Linked DNA regions of Homo sapiens: region 1 is linked to region 2. Evidence: promoter capture Hi-C in 16 types of primary human blood cells and fetal thymus (Javierre and others, 2016). All regions are on one chromosome and are shown on one strand. The core of a region is centred on a gene start or on the middle of the fragment in contact, and the rest is flanking DNA. Distances in the headings are between cores, read along the strand shown.

The links. Contacts are between HindIII fragments. The CHiCAGO score rates a contact against its expected background, and 5 or more counts as called.
Region 1: a contact is called between a fragment that was not itself captured here and the fragment with the promoter of GPD2 in region 2, in 3 of 17 cell types (M1 macrophages, M0 macrophages and M2 macrophages). The highest score is 7.2, in M1 macrophages.

Annotation. Positions count from the first base shown.
Region 1 is chr2:157,436,152-157,439,044 of GRCh38, reverse strand. All of the region lies in intron 1 of CYTIP (cytohesin 1 interacting protein), which reads left to right. Among named protein-coding and RNA genes, the nearest start is that of CYTIP, 6.5 kb to the left of the region's middle. RefSeq lists an enhancer at 1-10. The HindIII fragment of the contact is 4,220 bases long and covers 1-2,893 here.
Region 2 is chr2:156,435,121-156,437,820 of GRCh38, reverse strand. GPD2 (glycerol-3-phosphate dehydrogenase 2) reads right to left here and starts at 1,442. Exons shown (of 17, transcript NM_000408.5): 1 at 1,308-1,442. RefSeq lists silencers at 1,321-1,730, 2,171-2,340 and an enhancer at 1,881-1,930. The HindIII fragment of the contact is 5,965 bases long and covers 1-2,700 here.

The sequences.
Region 1 (2,893 bases), core at 161-2,660, 1.0 Mb before region 2:
AGTAGAGTGGTGGGGGAAATATCTATAGAGGCTTCAGGTCTGTCCTGTGGTTTAAAAGATTTTACATTTGAATCTATCCAGAATGACTTTTGATTCAAAAGACCGATTGGATGAAATCTTGAAGTTCCTAATAGATGCACTGATTTCCGGCATACTAAAAGGGTATTTAAAATTGACAAGGCTCAAAATTTTACTAATAATTTATTAATTCTTGCCACCATTCATCCACTTAGCAGCTATGTACTAAGGCACTACTATCTTTGTTTTCTGTTAGTACTTTTTCTGCATTTCTTGTTTCGGATTGAATTTTTTTTTTTGTTCTTGTCTGTTTTCTTTCATTTAAAATTTTTTGGTTTTTAAAATTTGTACTTATTCAGTTGATATATAATCATACATACTCATGGTATACATAGTGATGTTTTGATACGTGGAATGTACAGTGATCAGATCAGAGTAATTAGCATATCCATCACCTCCCTCACACAATGATCATTTCTTCATTTTGGGACTGTTGAATATCCTCCTTCTAACTATTTGAAACTAGTACATGATATACTATTGTTAACTATAGTTAGCCTACAGTATAGAGCACTAGAACTTATTCTTCCTATCTAGCTGTAATTTTTTATCCTTTAACAAGTGTGTCCCTATCCATTTCTTCCCCCAACCCTTCCCAGCCTCTAGTATCCTCTGTTCTACTTTTTACTTCTATGAGATCAACTTTTTTTAGCTTCCACATATGAGTGAGAACATGTGGTGTTTAACTTTCTATTCCTGGCTTATCTCACTTAACATAATGTCTTCCAGTTCAATCCATGTTGCTGTGAATGACAGGATTTCATTCTTTTTTATGGCTGAATTGTATTCCATGGTGTATATATACCACATTTTCTTTATCCATTCATCTGTTGTTGGACACCTAGGCTGATGCCATCTCTTGGCTATTGTGAATAGTGCTGTAATAAACATGGGAGTGCAGATGTCTCTTCGATATAATGATTTCCTTTCCTTTGGATGAATTCCCAGTAGTGGGATTGCGGGATCATATGGTAGTTCTATTTGTAGTTGTTTGAGGGACCTCCATACTGTTCTCCATAGTGGCTGTACTAATTTACATTCCCACTAACAGTGTATGAAAGTTCCCTTTTCTCCTTATCCTCACCAGCATTTATTATTTATTGTCATTTTGATCATAGCTATCCTAACTGGTGTGAGATGATACCTCATTGTGGTTTTAATTTCCATTACCCCAATGATGAGTGATATTGAGCATTTTTTCATATATTTGTTAGCCATTTGTATGTCTTCTTTTTCTTCCTTTCTTTTTTTTTTTTCTTTTTTTTTTTGAGATGGAGTCTCACTCTGTCGCCAGGCTGGAGTGCAATGGCATGATCTCAGCTCACTGCAACCTCCGCCGCCCGGGTTGAAGCGATTCTTCCAACTCAGCTTCCCTAGTATCTGGGATTACAGGCACCTGCCATCATGCCTGGCTAATTTTTGTATTTTTGTAGAGACGGGGTTTTACCATGTTGGCCAGGCTGATCTTGAACTCCTGAGCTCAGTTGATCCACCCTCCTTGGCCTCCCAAAGTGCTGGGATTACAGGTGTGAGCCACCATGCCCAGTCTTGTATAGCTTCCTTTGAGGAACGTCTGTTCAGATCATTTGCCCATTTTTAAATTTTTTTTTTTCTGTTGAGGTATTTTAGTTCATTATATATTCTGGATATATAAATGAGTAGTTTGCAAATATTTCCTTCCATTCCACAGGTAGTCTTTTCACTCTGTTAATTGTTTGCTGTGCAGAATCTTTTTAGTTTAATATAACCCCATTAGTTTATTTTTGCTTTTGTTGCCTGTTTTTTGAAGGTCTTATTCATAAAATTTTTTCCCAATCCAATATGCTAAAGCCTTTCCCCTATGTTTTATTCCAGTAGTTTTATTGTCTCAGGTTTTACATGAAGGTTTTGATCCATTTACTTATTTTCAGTTGATTTCTGTATAGAGTGAGAGGTATGGTCTAGTTTCTTTCTTCTGCATATGGATATACAGTTGTCTGTTTTCTTTCATTTTTAAATCTTGCTACATATTTAAGATTTTTAAATTTTACTTTATGTATTTTAGTGATTATCCTTGAGTTTTTCCTATGATATTGAATTTAATAAAGGACAATGTTGAAGACTATCTTTACATATTTCTCCTGAACGTGAATATTTAATGTGGCTCTTCAACCATCTCAGTTGCTTCCATTTTCGTTTAGTAGTTTATTTATTTTTATCTATTTCTCCATTTTTAAGTTTCCATTCTATTCCAGGCCCTGTGTTGGGCATTGGGGCAGAAAGTAAAACAAATAACATTCCCCAAGAGGTCCAAATCACACAGATGATTATGTACAGATGTGAAGTATTTGATCCAGTATGCATTTCATATAAATATATACATATATGTATACATATATATATAGCTCTCTCTATATGGATATATGAATAATATGATGAATACTGATAGCAAGAGTAATACCTTAAAAATATAAGCCCTTATTTATAGAGGTATAAGAAACTTTTATAAAAAGAATAAAAAAGCCCTAGTTATCATTACGTAATTTGGCTTAAGGGCGGAAAACAAGCAGCTGAAGATAATAAAAATAGATTAAGAAAATATGAGTACAATATAAGGGAGAGACTGAGAATGCTTGGAAATATCAAGTTTGTGGCTCTCTTCTGCAAGGAAGCCCACTAACATAGATGAATAGTCCCTATCCTTGGTAACGGTACATACGAGGTACAAAATCAGGTTACAACAAACCATACCAATCCTTGTAGGCATTCCACAGTTAGTGCTTATAAATTGAAAAGAGATACTTTTTAGCAAGACTAGAGAATCTTTTTGGGTCTG
Region 2 (2,700 bases), core at 193-2,692:
TGTGGCCCTTTTGTCAATTCCTGAACCAAGCCATTGCATCTTTGAATGAATCACAAGGGAGAAAGAAGGAAGCAGAGCTCTAATGCTGTTTAGAATTTCTTTATAAAATAAAGTGACTCTATAAGCTATGAGAATGGACAGTTGCAATGAATCCATTGTTGGTTCTCAAACCCAAAACCCCATATTTACCCATTTATTCATTAAAATATTGCTGTATTATTTCACGAGTTGATTTGTAAAAGTCAAGGGAGTGTTGTAATTTGACATAACGCCCCTGTGAGAAACAGAGGGGGGTTTCAACATCCACATCACAAGGTTCCCCAGACTGCACACGGTCTCCATTGGGCAATGGCATCCAGATGTCATGTGGTAGCCAGCAAGAACTGTAGGACTGGGACTAGAGTGGTCAGTAGCTACGAAGAAGTGCCTGGGCCCAGTGTGACAGCTGCCAGCACCGTCCACACGCCAAAAAGAAACTTCACATCTCTTTAAACTTGGAACACATGCAAAATACTAACAGTTTTGTTTTAGCAATAAAGACTCCCTGTCACTTACTAACTTCCTTCCCTCACCTATTTATACAAGTATAAGTTGACTAGCTGCTATTTCTATAGCTGCCTCCTATGATATTTATAATGTGTTGTGTGTGATTTGGGTTGCCCATGTCACTAACACTTTGCAAGAATTTGTGTTTGTAAATTACTCTGGAACTCTTCTGGGAGTGAATATTCCACTGCACAAGGTGGAAGCCAGACTAGAGACCATCTGCTAAGAGCAGCACTTCATTCACCCAGCTACACCTTCCTGCCAAAGCACTCTTTGCAAATCTATTTTTGCTGGTAGAAGTTACTACATAGGGAGTGGAGGCTGTTTTAAGTTATCAGTGTGCACCTTCCATTTCCTCCTAGGACGGTCACACGCCAGCAGCTGAGTTTCTCAAAGAAGCCTCAGCCCTCCTCCAGACTCGTTCTCACTCTTGCTTCGGAAGGGAGCAACAATCCTTATCAGACTAGCCGCATCTACAAGCTAAAAGTTTGCATGAACTTTCAATGGGGTACCAACCCTCGCCCCAAAAGTCCTGCCACTTTACTATTTTACAAATGCCGCCTCCAAAACATAAACAACGAAACCCTAGAGAAGAGCGAATCCATCTTCTGCTGGTGGGAAGAAATTCTAAATCTTTCCCGTTTCCCGCCACCACCTACCGCCAAGACTGGAGTCCCAGAACACTCGCCCGGGTCAGAAAGGGACCACTCCCCCCCTAGAATACTAGAGGCGGGGGAAGGGGTCTCCCAGGAAGCACACACCTGAGATAGATCCTCACGCGCGAGGGGCCAGCGGGCAGGAGCACCCAGTTCCTCCAGCCAGGGTGGAGTCGGCCTCCCCCCAGAATCAGAGCCTCGGCCCGGGTGCTCCCAGCGAGGCGCGCGGGGCTGTCACTCGAGGCGGGCTGGGCGGGTGTAACTCGAGCGCCGGGCGGGCCGCGCCCCCGCCTTCCCTCTTCCCGACTTCCTCCTCCCGCTCCCGCGCCTGCTCCCTCCCGGAGGCCTGACCAGGGCGGCGAGGCCGCCACCTCCTGCCCGGATACCTCGGGCCCAGGCTCCTCCGGCCCAGCGGGGAAACGCGGAAGTGGGGGCGGGAACCGGGGCCGGGGTTGGCGGGGGTGTGGGAGGGAAAAGCCAACAGCGGGCGGCGAGCGAGGTGGTCTCCGTGGCCCAATGAACGTGACTAGACGGGGACGCGGGTCCTGCCGCCGGGTGGGGTCGCGCAGCGCCACACGCAAGGGCCCTCGCCCCTGGCTGCAGTTCCTGCTTTGTGCCTCGGCGATGCCGGACTCCAGACCTCCGCCCCGCCTTGCCAGCGGGCTGGCGGACTGGAAAGCCTGAGCTAGGCCAGGCTGGGGAAGACGGTGGCGGTGTCCGATTTCCTGTGCCCTCGCCCATGCGGGCCGCCCTGGCCATCTGCCTGCGGGAGAGGAGACACTCGTCCGCCGGCACGCTGGCGGGGCTGGCTTACCTGACGACTTCTCGTTGTCCGCCCTGGGATCTGGCTTCTCCTACTCTGTACCTCCCGGCCGGCAGGCTTCCCTAGGCCTACAGACGTGTCCAGGAGGCGGGCGACCCTGCGACCCCGCCGTCAGAGCCCAGAACCCTCGCCCGGCTCCCCCGGCGGGCTCTGGAGGCGCGCCAGGCCTCCTGGCTCCCCGCCTGAATGTCAGCGCAGGGACCCGCAGGGAAGACCAAGCCCAAGCTCCAGGGGGTGGAATGCTGAGCACAGGTTCCCCAGACCCAGCCTCATACAGGTGGGGGGAGGCGGAGAGCCCCGGCAGCTGAACAGCAGGCTTCCCACTTGCAACCCCCCGCCACCCAAAAAAAAAAAACGACCCTGCCCACTGAGCATGCCCAGCTTACTTGTTGGAACTCCTAGGGCTAGACAAGCCCAAGGGGACCTAAGGAAGGCAAAGTTGGGGCTCAAATGGACCCCACTTCTTTAACAGCTTTGCTCCGAAGACCTCTGGGTGCTGTACTAATAACCTTTCTATCGTGGTATTGGAAAATATCCAGGAGATGGACGGAAATGCCTTTCCAAAAGAAGGAAGAAAATTAGTGTGAACCAAAAAGCAGTGGTATTTTTTTAAATAAAGTATTAAGTCACTCATTTAATGTCCTTAAATACCGCAGAATTCCTGTAGTTGACCCA